Regions from separate parts of the Homo sapiens genome. Here region 1 is linked to region 2. Evidence: promoter capture Hi-C in 16 types of primary human blood cells and fetal thymus (Javierre and others, 2016). All regions are on one chromosome and are shown on one strand. The core of a region is centred on a gene start or on the middle of the fragment in contact, and the rest is flanking DNA. Distances in the headings are between cores, read along the strand shown. Region 1 has its middle 13 kb from the start of SFRP2. Region 2 holds the start of DCHS2 (dachsous cadherin-related 2).

The links. Contacts are between HindIII fragments. The CHiCAGO score rates a contact against its expected background, and 5 or more counts as called.
Region 1: a contact is called between a fragment that was not itself captured here and the fragment with the promoter of DCHS2 in region 2, in 1 of 17 cell types (endothelial precursors). The highest score is 6.2, in endothelial precursors.

What each region holds. Positions count from the first base shown.
Region 1 is chr4:153,798,442-153,804,859 of GRCh38, reverse strand. No RefSeq gene overlaps it. Among named protein-coding and RNA genes, the nearest start is that of SFRP2, 13 kb to the right of the region's middle. RefSeq lists an enhancer at 241-410. The HindIII fragment of the contact is 5,199 bases long and covers 611-5,809 here.
Region 2 is chr4:154,488,425-154,495,145 of GRCh38, reverse strand. It overlaps DCHS2 (dachsous cadherin-related 2), which reads left to right and starts at 3,347. Exons shown (of 20, transcript NM_001358235.2): 1 at 3,347-5,842. The coding sequence starts at 3,791. RefSeq lists enhancers at 2,917-2,966, 3,769-3,948, 3,999-4,138, 3,607-4,562, 4,563-5,519. The HindIII fragment of the contact is 6,491 bases long and covers 202-6,692 here.

The DNA.
Region 1 (6,418 bases), core at 1,961-4,460, 690 kb after region 2:
TTAATGCTTTCTGCTCATAAGTCCCTATGCTCAAAGGACAGACTGGAACTGTTTGATATGGGCCTGAAAGTTGTATCACACTGTAAATCAACACACTACTGTCTTCATCAAGGAAGCCTTGCTACAAGAAAATAAAATGCCTGCTGAACTACACATTGTGCTTAGGGACATAGCAGATTTACATACTGGTGCCATCTCCTTGTGTCCCTCATGGACTGGCAACTAACTGCCAGCCAATGGAGTACACCGTGAGCAGCACTGACATGGAGCATTGTACAGGTGTGCTATGGTTTGAATGTGTGCCCCAAAGTCCACTTCTGGAAACTGTAATCCCCAATGCAATAGTGTTAAGAAGTGGGACCTTTAAGGGGTGATTAGGTCCTGAGGGTTCTGCTCTCATGAATAGATTAATGTTGCTATCGCAGGAATGGATTCATTATTGCAAGAGTGAGTTTTTTATCAAATGGAGTTCAGCCCTCTCTTGCTTGCTGTCTTCCCCTTTCTCCCTCTCTCACCCTCCACCTTGGGATGACACAGCAAGAAGACCCTTGCCAGATGCCACCATCTTGATACTGGACTTCCCAGCCTCCAGAACAATAAGGAATAAGCTTCTTTTCTTTATAAACTACCCAGTCTGTGGTATACTGTTATAGTGATACAAATGGACTAAGACAGGGTGGGTCCATTCATGATACAACCATTCCAGCTGGGCCTAGCCTAAGTGTGTCTCTGTGTGGGATCATGAGAGCTTGGAGGTTCCTATGCACTTCTCTGCTTTAAGTTTTGTCCTCCAAATAAATCCTATCTTACATTTACACTGCATAACAGTGGTGATGAGTGTTCATGTCCGCTTTGCGAGACAACATATTAATTTAGAATAATAAACATAATCGTTATAGTTGCTGGAATATATGGGTCTTCCACCAGTGCTTCACAGTATTTTTTGCATTGTGCCACTAATAGAAATGTTGATCTTTGAAAGATACACTGGAGTAAATTTGGCAGCTCCTCTTGGTGCCCAGTAGCCCCTCACCCTAAACAGCCACCTCAAAGACTAAAGGAATCGATATCTCAGCACATCTGCAAGATTTCTGTGGCTCACTGGAGTGTCCTGGTATGACTCCATCCAGAGCATCTCTTAGGGGCTGAATTGTGTCCTCTACCTCCCAAAATTTGTATATTGAAATCCCAACTCCCAGTACCTCAGAATGTAACCATGTTTGAAGATAAACTCTTTCAGGAGGTGATTAAATTAAAATTAGGTCATTGAGGTTGGGTCCTAATCCAATATGACTGGTGTGCTAATAAGAAGAGGGAGAGATACCAGGGATGTGCTTATACAGAGGAACAACCCTGTGATGAGGCAACAAGAGGCAGCCATCTGCAAGCCAAGGAGAAAGGACTCAGAGGAAACTAACCCTGCCAGCACTCTGATCTTGGACTTCTACCCTCAAGATTTGTGAGAAAATTAATTTCTGCTGTTTAAGCCACACTGTCTGTAGTTATTGTCTTATGGCAGCCTTAGCAAATTAATACAGTATCTTTCCCTAGATCAGGGTTGCTTGGTGAATGCAGGAGACAGTGAAGGGAGTTAGGTAATCTTGAGAATAGCTCAAGAGGGAGCTCCCCATCCCTGTGTGCGTCCAGGAGAAATTTGGATTCCCCATCAGGGACATAACACTGGGTGGAGAATAGACCAGCTGGCTTCCAACATTTAGATTCTATCATTTTTCTCTACAAACTTTGATTTCCTCACGGAAGAGAATTATCACTTCCATCATCAAATATACTCTCCTATCTAGAAATTAAAATGAAAACAAAAGCATATTTAAAGACTTTCACTTGACTCCCTCTGTCCCCTCCTTCCTTTGGCTCCTAAATTTCTCAAGCGCATGCTGTCTTACTGCTGCCATCATCTTTGCCCTACTTTTTGGACACAAATGTTTGAAATAGGCCTTAAAGCACAGATTGGCTCCTACCAAACGAGAGAAAAAGGACTGAGGACTGTCTTTCCAGGTAGGAAGGAAGGTGATGTCGCCCTGTCTCTACCGTCAGAGTCACGGAAAGGTGAGGTGGTCTTTCAAAAACTGCAGTTACCACAGGAAAACAGTATTCCAGAATTTTCCACCTGGCTTAAAGGTCTACAGATCCACTTCTAACTGTGTTCATTTTAAAGAATCACTCAGCTTAGAGAGCTGTGATCTCTGTGAAGTTATTAGCAAGTCTAACCAATTCTGTTGAGAGAAAAGAATAGCAAGAATAATGGCTATGGTTGGCTTCAGGGATGCTACATGGCTCTTGCACCTTTTACTCCTCTGCTTTATGAAGTTTGAGTTGTATTCATCCATCTTAAAGTAGATTAAGGCCTGAGGCCAGGCTTTCGGTTTTTTTGTGTTTGTTTGTTTGTTTTTAATGTACTTAAACCTGCTTGCTTCCTACCACAGATTCTTTATTTTCCCAAACAAAAAACTTTTAAACTTTGCCATTTCATCTGTTTACACTCTTTGCCACTGATTAGCAGTATTTAAATCTTGCAAGAATATTTTGTGCTTCCTTTAGAAACACAAGAGTATAGATTTTTCTCACTGAAAAGTGAGAGTTACGCATTGCAGCCATGAAGGGATGCTAGGATCAATTATGGCAGTACCTTTTTTCCCCTCCTGTTCTTGAGCCAGTTGCCTCTTTTGTTTTGGGTCCCACTTAGGATTAACGGATGTAAGGTATTTTTCCTGTGCCTTTATTTTGTGTCATTCTATTGGAAGGAGGTGTAACGGCAGAATAGCATAGTGTTAGGGGTTTTCTTTCAAACACTGCAAGTGGTATCGCCACCATGTGAACCTCAAATATGCAATCCAGTTGTGTTGGTTTCTCGGTGACTTAGAGTGTTCATCTCTTCATGAATTGTGAGCACTGACCATGTTCTTCAGTTCTTATTTATGGTGAGTTGACAAATACCAACTACTGCTTTTCTTCAGATGGCTATAAATTTCTTATTGTCAGGGGGAAATGACACTATATTCTGTTCCACTGAGCGTCTGAGATCAGCAGGCACTGTACTGGGTAGAGAAGTGCCTATACTTCTCTACCTAAGAGGGCAGGAGGGAAACCCTACAGCTCCTTGTGAGCCTATATATTAGTATATCGGCCTGGAGAGGACAAGGGAATAAGACCACTCATAGTGAGGCTGGCCAAACTGCACTGGTTGGACCAGGCAGTGGCTGACCTAAGGAAGACAACTTGCTTTGCTTAAAAGTAGATTTTTTAAGCAATGCTTAACACAGGCAGTATTAACTTCACCTTTCGTTCAGGCCATCAACATGTATTGTTAAAATTACTGCACATCCCCCTCAGATATCGAGTATACACTGTTCATGTTGGGGTGTGTGTGTGTGTGTGTGTGTGTATGTATGTACGCACGCATGTGTCCCAAATCTTGTTTTAATTTTTTTTTTCTGAATGTGATCATGTTTTGGGTGATACCTGAGCAAGGTTGCCTTTTTTTTATTACCATTGTATATTATATTATATTATATTATATTATATTATATTATATTATATTATATATTTTTTGCTTTCTTATAACTTTGGAGGAAAGTCAAATCTTGGTATTATTAAAATTGTTTTAAAAAGGAGTAAATTTTCCAGTTGATAAATGAAAATCAATGGTCTAGCTTTAAAATAATGAGTTTTTCTTTAATTACTGTGGAATAACGTGCCAGCTATCATCAACACAATGATTTTGTACATAGGGTAGGGAAGCAGTGATGCTCTCAATGGGAAGATGTGCAACACAAATTAAGGGGAACTCCATGTATTTTACCTGCTTCAGCAATGGAACTGCAACTTGGGGCTTTGTGAATAAAGTGTAGCTGCCTTGTATAGTCGTTTGAAAGAGAATATGTGATCTGTGAGAGAATTATAGTTGTTTTAGAAGAAAAATCTGCAAAAGATCTTTCCAAAGACAATGTGCCACAGATCTTTTGTTCTCTGTAATAAGGATTAATTGCCGTTTAAACAAAAATGTAATTGTTCATCTTTAAATTCTTTCCTTTTCATAAGAGGATCAAGCTGTAAAAAAACAAAATAATTAATAAAAATGTCGAGAAATCAAAAAAAAAGAATAATGGCTACGGCTAACACAACATTTCTGCTTTAGTCAATAAATTCTAATTCCTACTCTACCAACTCATTTTACAATCAGCTGCTGCTGAGAGAACTCATTATGTGATAAGGGTGTCCCTGCTCTTCTGTGCCAGGTTTTCCTTTGGTAAAAGTGTTAATAAGTAGTAAATGCCCCAAAATGTGAATAATATTTTGATTTTTAAAGTGGACACATATACTTAATGCCACTGAACTGTACACTTTAAAATGATTAAAATGGGGCCAGGCACAATGGCTTATGCCTGTAATCCCAGCACTTCGGAAGGCTGAGGCAAGCAGATCCCCTGAGCCCAGAAGTTTGAGGCTGCAGTGAGCTATGATCATGCCACTGCACTCCAGCCTGGGTGACAGAACAAGACCCTGTCTCTTTAAAAAATAAAAAATTTAAAAAAAATTTAAAAAGGTTAAAATGGTAAATTTTATGTTAACATACAGTGTATTTTACCACAATAAAAAAAAAGTAACACAAAGTCTGAATCACATTAAGAGAGCACCTGTAAGCATGCCAGCCTTCTAAGAGAGTAGGAAGGGGCATGGTTAATAAAACCGTGTCGGTCAGCAAAGTAGAGCAGGTAGGAATGGGAAGCTGAGAATTATATCATCTGCACCCAAAGCACAGAAGCCTCTTCTGATAACTTATCAAGTAAAGACTGTAAATGCCTTTATGCTAAGAATGATACTCAGTATGAACTTATCTGTAAAACACTAGTCATGTTGCCCTCGTGGATTTTACAAGGTTGCATCTTTTTGCTGATTAAATCATTTCTCTACAGGCACTATTTATCTACTGTTTCTGACTGAGAAGGTCAAGGCCTGGGGTGGAGGGCCAGACTCCAGATGTTGTGGCTCACACTGTCAGAACCAAATCACTCTTTCCACATAGATGGTCTCTCAACAACAGCACGTGATTGGAAAAGAGAATAGCTCCATCCCAGGAAAAGCCTTCTGTTCTGTGTTTGCCTTAAGTGTATGATGTTATGTTTAGCCCTCAGTGCAAAGTAGTAACAAACTTCATTGATTATACATTTGCTGTATGCAAAGCATACTACTCAGTCTTGGGGCTATGGCAGTACAAAAAAATATACTCCTACCATCACCAGGCTTAAAGTCTGGATGGGTTGACAAAACATGTTTCTAATTAGTAATGGTTAGCCTGAGGAGATTACCAGTGAAGATTAATTACAAGGGTTTTTCTTGGAGTGCCAAAACTGTTTCCCTCAGTTAATATTTCAACTACTTGTCATCTATTTTGCAATATAATTTTGATTTAAAATTCAAATTCCAACAACAGTAACAACATTTTTTAAATAATTAGATCTCTTTTTAATTTAGTGAGCCTGATTTTCTTTTGAACATGCAACAAAATGTGAGTCAGATTTGTTTTCCCTGCCTGGGATGATGCTGTGGAGTTCATTCCCAGCCCCATCCTTAACATCCTTCCCTGCCTGGGATGATACTGGGAGTTCATTCCCAGCCCCATCCTTAACATCCTTCCCTGCCTGGGATGATACTGGGAGTTCATTCCCAGCCCCATCCTTAACAGCAGAGCAGCACTCCAACTCTGCTAATGATTTGGGACTTTATTTATGACCTGGGTAAGTCTCCTAACACCGCATTACATCTGCACGATAAGTTCCCAGAGGAAGCTTCTGTGGGTGGAGTTGGCTACACTACTGTATACCTGATGAAATAAAAATAACACACACAGAAAACACTATGTACTTCTCCTAAGTGCTTTTTCTTTTTTAATCCTCGCTAGGTGCTATTATTAACCCCATTTTATGGATGAGGAAACTAAGGCATGAAGAGTTTACATGATTTGTTCAGGATCTCACAGCTGGAAAGTAGTGAAACCAGATTTGAACACAATTTGAGTTCTTCCTATCAGCCTGTCCCAGATATCAGCCTAAGGGACACTGATATGTCCCAGCACCAAATATATATCTGAAATTAAATCACAGGATTTGCTTTCTTTGGTTGTAACAATGCTGAAGAAGAGAATTTAAGAAAACATCTGCAATCCTCATTTCCCCCTCTCTGACGATAAGACTCTGACTGCCCTCCCCTGGGGAGTGTTGAAGCATGTTCTTCCTCTTTTTGCCATTCCTTGTTCCACAGAAAACAAGAGCAACAAAATATCTTGGAGGGTTCCTTTATCTTCCTTCCCTCAATCTATGGTATTTATCTAATCTCCTGGCAGTTTACATTTCATGAACATATTTTCATAGCTGGATCACCGCGAAATGCAAAAAGAAAA
Region 2 (6,721 bases), core at 2,098-4,597:
ACCTTGACCTATTTCTTGCAGGCTGTTGGCTTCTGTATTATCTAAAATTATTTTTCACATATCTGAGAAATGCTCTTATTTCTCTTACTTTACAAAATTGAATTCTTAATTCTATAATTAAGGATATTCAGGACATTCAATGAAGGGTAATTGTGAAATGGACAGGAGACCTTGAATTGTACATGCTGGAGATATAAAGCTTTAGAACTAATAGGAAAATAGATGTCTGAGGTTCTTGATTTTCCATTTGTTTTCCACTGTTTCTAAACTAAACCACTGTTTACAAAGAATGTGTCAGTGAAAGATGCAGTAAAAGATGCTTCTTTTCCTTTATTTTTAGACTCAAGTAAATATTTGTTAACAATATGGTTGATATGGTTTGGATCTGTGTCCCTGCCCAAATCTCATGTTGAATGGTAATCCCCAGTGTTAGAGGTGGGACCTGGTGGGAGGTGACTGGATCATGAGGCAGTTTCTTATGAATGCTTTAGCACCATTCCCTGATGCTGTCCTCATGAGAGTGAGTGAGTTCTCATGAGATGTGTTTGTTTAAAAGTGTATAGCACCTCCCCATTCATTTTCTTCCTCCTGCCTACTTCCCCTTCACTTTCTGCTATGATTGTAAGTTTCCTGAGGCCTCCCCAGAAACTGATCCCACCATGCTTCCTGTACAGCCTGCAGAACCATGAGCCAATTAAACATTTTTTCTTTATAAATTACCCAGTCTCAGGTTCTTTACAGCAATGCAAGAACAGACTAATACAATGGTTTACAAAGTAAGTTGACGAAGCTGAAAAATAAGTTCAAGAAGTCCTATGAAATAATTAAGATGAGTAAGATTGCAAAGACATAATTCATTACAGTGAAGATTCTCATGGCCAATTCATTCTTGGTTATGGCTTCCAACTTCTACTTTAACAGACAAATGCATTCACTTACCCATAGGTTCAACCAACCGTCTGTCCAACACATACTTAGTAAATAGAGACACACTACATGCTAGGTACTGTTCTAGGTGCTGAGATAAAGCAGAATGAAGGTTTTGAGGTTGTAATAATCTAATAAACAAATGAAAAAAGCAAGTTGATTTCAGATGCTGATAGGTGTTGTGAATGAAATATACTGAAAGGATATAGCATTTATAGTAGAAAGGCTATCTGAAATAGGGTAATTAGGGAAGATCTTTCTTAACAGAGGGCATTGGAGTTGAGACCTGAATGAGAAAGAGCTAGCTCTTTCCAAAGCAGAAAAAAGAACTCCCAGGCATGGAAAGTTCTAACAATTCAAAGGTACAAGATCAAAAAGAAGGCAGATGGCTGAGTCCAGAGTGGTGGTATGAGGCAAGGTCAGAAAGATGGATAGGATCCTGTACTACTAAAAGGAGCTTGATTGAAGGAGTCTGAATTATAATCTAAGTATAATGGAATCATTTCAGGTTCTAAGCAGGAGGTAATATGATTTGAGACAGCTTTAAAAACATTAATCCAGATGCTTGTTCAAGAATTACTTATAGGCTGGTTGCGGTGGCTCAAGCCTGTAATCCCAGCACTTTGGGAGGCCTAGGCAGGAAGACTGGCCCCAGGAGTTCGAGACGAGCCTGGGCAATATAGTGAGACCTCATCTCTACAAAAGTAAAAAAAATAAACAAATAAATTAATAAAATAATATAAAATTTGCCAGGTATAGTGGTGGGCACCCATAGTCCCAGCTACTCTGGAAGCTGAGGTGATGGAATCACTTGAGTCCATGAGGTTGCAGTGCGCCATGATTGCACCACCGCACTCCAGCCTGGGTGACAGAGTGAGATCCTGACTCAGAAAACAAAACAGCAACAACAACAACAATAGCAAAAACAGAAAAGAATTACTTATAAAGGGGCAAGAGTGGGAGGGGAGGGACTAGTTAGGGTGCAAATGCAGAGACTGAAGATAAAAAGACTCTAAAGACTCATAACAAATCTCTTTAATGGTTAAAGAGAGTTCATTGGGGGAAAGAAAGCTGAATTTATTTTAATAATGTCCCCATTTTCGGTAACATATATGCTACAAAGTCAATTATTTTATTGTTATTTGGTCACAGGTAGAGATAACGGTGTGGCTGTGGATTAGCAATTACATACACCTCCGTTGCACATTTAAAAAGGCATTTTGTTGTTGCTGCAAGAAACCACTATGCAGGGCTTTTGGTCCTCCCTAAAGGAGAGAAACGGTATCTAGGAAATTAATTCTTCTCTCAGGCCCAAATGCAAAATTGCAGAAACCACTTGCTAAATATGGTCAGCCATTTTTAAGAGTCCAGAGAGTCTTTTCTCAGGCGTACTTTATTAGAGGCCATTGATCAGTTTCTACCGATTATTATAGTTAATTGAAGGGAAATCTGCGACTATGGCTATTTATTGGCATTTGCGTTCGGCTCAGACAGAAGCTAGTTTTGAAAGTGGTATCCGTAGAGTTATCCCGCTTGCACACTTCCTTGCCTAGGGGTGGTGGGGGAGCGCTGAGGGCTTGCGGGGTGTCAGCCACCAGGGCTTTCTGCTCATCAGTCAGCATCGTCAGACATCCTGGAAGTGTTATGATGGCGCTGAATGTAGAAAAAGGGTTCTCAGGGCGGATATATTGTCGTCATTCCTGGTGGCAGAGGGGAGTGACAAGAGGCTCACACGTCGCTGGGTAGTAGCACGCATAATAAAGTGTGGTTTGCACCATGTGTGCCACAGATTTCTCGGGTTTTCTGGAAGGCTTTTCCAAGTTCCGCCTTCTCCCCTTTAAAGCCATCCTGGCCCCAGCTATGCATCGGCCTTTGACTCCATCTGTCCTTCCGCTGCGGACGGGAGTCCCTCTCGCCAAATGGAGAACACAAGTTTGGCACCCCAAAGTGATGATAACCTCTACCCTCTTGGCTCAGCGCGAGCCAAGAGTCAGGCCTGCAGAGGGACGGTCAAGCGGATGGAGGGGGAGGCCGCGGAGAGGCCGCTCCTCTCACCTCCCCGCACCCATCATCACTTGGCACTTGGCCAAGCCCAGGCAGACGCCCCGCCTGCGCGTCCCCCACCCGCCCCGCGGTGCACGTCTCCCAGTGCTTTTGCATTTGCTCCTCTTCCGCCCTGCTGCAGAGCGCGGCTCGCAGGTTGGAGTTTGCCCTCGTGTGCGCCGCATCACACGGCAGGGAGGGGAAGGCAGGCGGCGGAGGCTGGGTCGGAGCAGGAGTCGCGCGGTCCCTGGCGCCCGGAGACACAGTGGGGAACCACCGCCCCGCCCCCGGAGCAGCGGACAGGGCCGCAGACCTCCCTTCCCCCCTCCCTCTCTCCCTCCTCCCCAGCGCCCTGACTCCCTGCCTCCACGCCCTTACTCCACCCCCTACTCCGGCCAGATCCCCATCCTCTCCTTGTGTGTGCGCGCTTCATATAATCTCCTCCTTTTTGGCAAAAGAAATAATGCACCTGACTTTACCAGGGGGGAACAACCAGCCGAGTAGAACAAGGAACAGATGTAAAGGGAATAAAAGGAGAGAGAAAAAGAGATGAGATTCGTTTAAAGAAATCCAGGGGCAGAAGAGGTGGCTGCCGCGGCAGAGGCAGCTAGAGCTTACTTCCCTGTCTGCGTGAGCTGCAGGCAGAGGACGCTTTCACCAGTTGCAGATGTAACCTCGGGAATTCCTGGGCCGTCGGTTTGTTTGCCAAACAAAGTCTTTTCTTCTCTGGCTCAGACACTGAAGAGGCTCCTGGATTTTTCTGCGATCCTGCCACAAGCTGGCAGTTACCCGAGAGCCTTCCCAAGGAGCTGGAGGAGAAATGAGCCCTTGTGGGCGGAAGATGGGCGAAGGGCGTCAGCAGCGGCGGGCTCCGGTCGGGAAGCTCCTTCTGCTCCCCGGGAGGAGAGATACACCCCATGGGCGGTCAGGCAGCAGCGGCGCCAGGACGCAGCGCTCCCTGCTCTGGCTCTTGGTGCACGTGTGGCTGTGGGCGGCCTCGGGCTCCTCTGCCCAGTTGTTCAACCTCACCCTTTCCGTAGATGAGGGGCTTCCCCCGGACACGCTGGTAGGTGACATCCGCGCCGGGCTGCCGGCCGCGCAGCAGCAGGAGGGGAGCGGCTTCTTTCTGTCGGAGGACTCCGATGACTCCCCGCTGCTGGACGACTTCCACGTGCACCCGGACACCGGCATCATCCGCACTGCGCGGCGCCTGGACCGCGAGCGGCGGGACCACTACAGCTTCGTCGCCGCCACGCTGCTGGGCGCTGTGGTGCAGGTGGAGATTCGCGTCAACGACGTGAATGACCACTCGCCCCGCTTTCCCCTCGACTCCCTGCAACTCGACGTCTCCGAGCTCAGCCCGCCAGGGACCGCCTTCCGCCTGCCAGTTGCCCACGATCCGGACGCCGGACTGTTCAGCACTCAGGGCTACACCCTGGTGCAACCGTCCGACCTGCCCAAGGACCCCGCAGGCCCGTTCTTCCAGTTGCGCTACCGGACTCCGGGGCCACTACCGTCACCGCTTTTGCCAGGCTCCTCGTCACCCCTGGAGCCTCTAGATCTGGTGCTGCTGCGGCGCTTGGACCGAGAGGAGGCGGCGGCGCACCGGCTGCAGATCGAGGCATGGGACGGCGGCCGACCCCGGCGCACCGGCCTCCTGAGCGTGGAGCTGCGCGTGCTGGATGAGAACGACAACCCGCCGGTCTTTGAGCAGGACGAGTACCGCGCCGCGGTGCGCGAGGACGCCCAGCCGGGCGCCGAGGTCTGTCGCGTGCGCGCCACCGACCGCGACCTGGGGCCCAATGGCTTCGTGCGCTACAGCGTCCGCGCCCGGCAAGTGCCTGGGGCGGGTAGCGGCGGCGGGGCACTGGGCGACGCGGCCTACTTCGCGGTGGAGGAGCTGAGCGGCGTGGTGCGAGTGTGGAGACCTCTGGACCGCGAGGCACAGGCCTGGCACCAGTTGGTGGTGGAGGCCCGCGATGGAGGCGCCGAGCCTGAGGTTGCCACGGTGCGCGTGTCCATCGCCGTGCTGGACGTGAATGACAACCGGCCAGCAATTCACGTGCTCTTTCTCACAGAGGGAGGCGTCGCCCGTGTCTCTGAAGGCGCCCGACCGGGCGACTACGTGGCTCGCGTCTCGGTGTCTGACGCGGACGGTGACTGGGAGAAGGAAGATGAGGCCACAGGGGAGCTTGGTGTGGGTCTTGGAGACGGGAGCATCTCTCTGTCCTTGGAAGGCGGAGAGGGAGACTTCGCGTTGCTACCCGGCGGCCCCCCAGGGGTATTTTTCCTTTGCGTGGAGGGGCCCCTGGACAGAGAGAGCCGCGATCTGTATGAGTTACTACTGGTGGCCACGGACGCGGGGTCCCCGCCGCTGAGCACGGAGGAGACGCTGCTACTCCGGGTCGCTGACCTCAATGACCAACCACCTCTCTTCAGCCAACAGCATTACAAGGCCTCAGTGTCCGAGGCCGCGGCCCCTGGCACTGTAGTCATGTGGGTCAGCGCCTCCGATGCCGACGAGGCAGGCAGTGATCACGCCTGGCTGCGCTACACTGTAGTCCAACTCTCGGCTCCCTGCAATCTCGGCTCCCTGCAATCAAAGATGGTCCACACCGCAGAGTGTGGACCATCTTTTGCCATTGATTCCGAAAGCGGTGCGATCAGCACTATCCGGACTCTAGACCGAGAGGTCCAGGAGGCGGTGGAGCTGAAAGTGGTGGCCCAGGACCTCGGAGAGCCCCCACTCTCTGCCACCTGCCTGGTGAGCATCACCGTAGATGATGTGAATGACAATGAGCCCATCTTCTGGAGGCAGGTGTACAATGCCACCATTGCAGAGCATGCCCCGGTTGGACACTGCTTTCTGCAGGTGAGTGCATCAGGCCTGTGGGCCAACCTGAAGGCTTGGGAAGGGATGGAGAGGGTTGTGAGTTGGCCTAGGAAATTGTGATGTGGAGGATAATATTCCGGCTCTCAAATACAAGACTGGCGGTAGTGCCCCCTCTACAGTGAGATGAATGATGCCCTCTAGTCACCTAACTTTTTTTTGCCAGGGTCTTGGCTACATGATCTCTAAGGTCCTTTCAACTTGACTTTTAGATCTTGATTTATCTTATTGAAGCCTGATTTCTTTCCTGCTGGATGTATGCACCTAAATAGGTTCAGGAGGAACTGCCCATTCTAAATCAGACCTCTTCCAACTGACAATGTCTCACATCATATCATATAAATACATGTATACACACACACACACACACACACACACACACAGACACACACACACACATATATATATTTTTGTCAAACAGAGTGTCACTCTGTTGCCCAGGCTGGAGTGCAGTGGCTCAATCTCGGCTCACTGCAACCTCCTTTTCCCAGACTCAAGCAATTCTCCTGCCTGCCACCATACCTGGCTAATTTCTGTATTTTTTTAGTGGAGATGGGGTTTCACCATGTTTGCCAGGCTGGTCTCGAACTCCTGACCTCAGGTGATCTGCCCTCCTCAACTTCCCAAAGTGCTGGGATTACAGGGGTGAGCCACCACGCCCAGCAATGTCTCATATATTTTTTTAACAGCTTTATGAGGCAACCTAGGGAATAAGGTAGTTCTCGTAAGTGAGTTTTTAAAATGACCAAGTGTATATCTTTATACACTGACACTGTTTTGAGTTACCTTTTCCAGAGACTTCTTACATGTTTTCCTACCTTCCTTCGAAGCTTACAAAGGTTGGATGAAGACTGAAGTCAT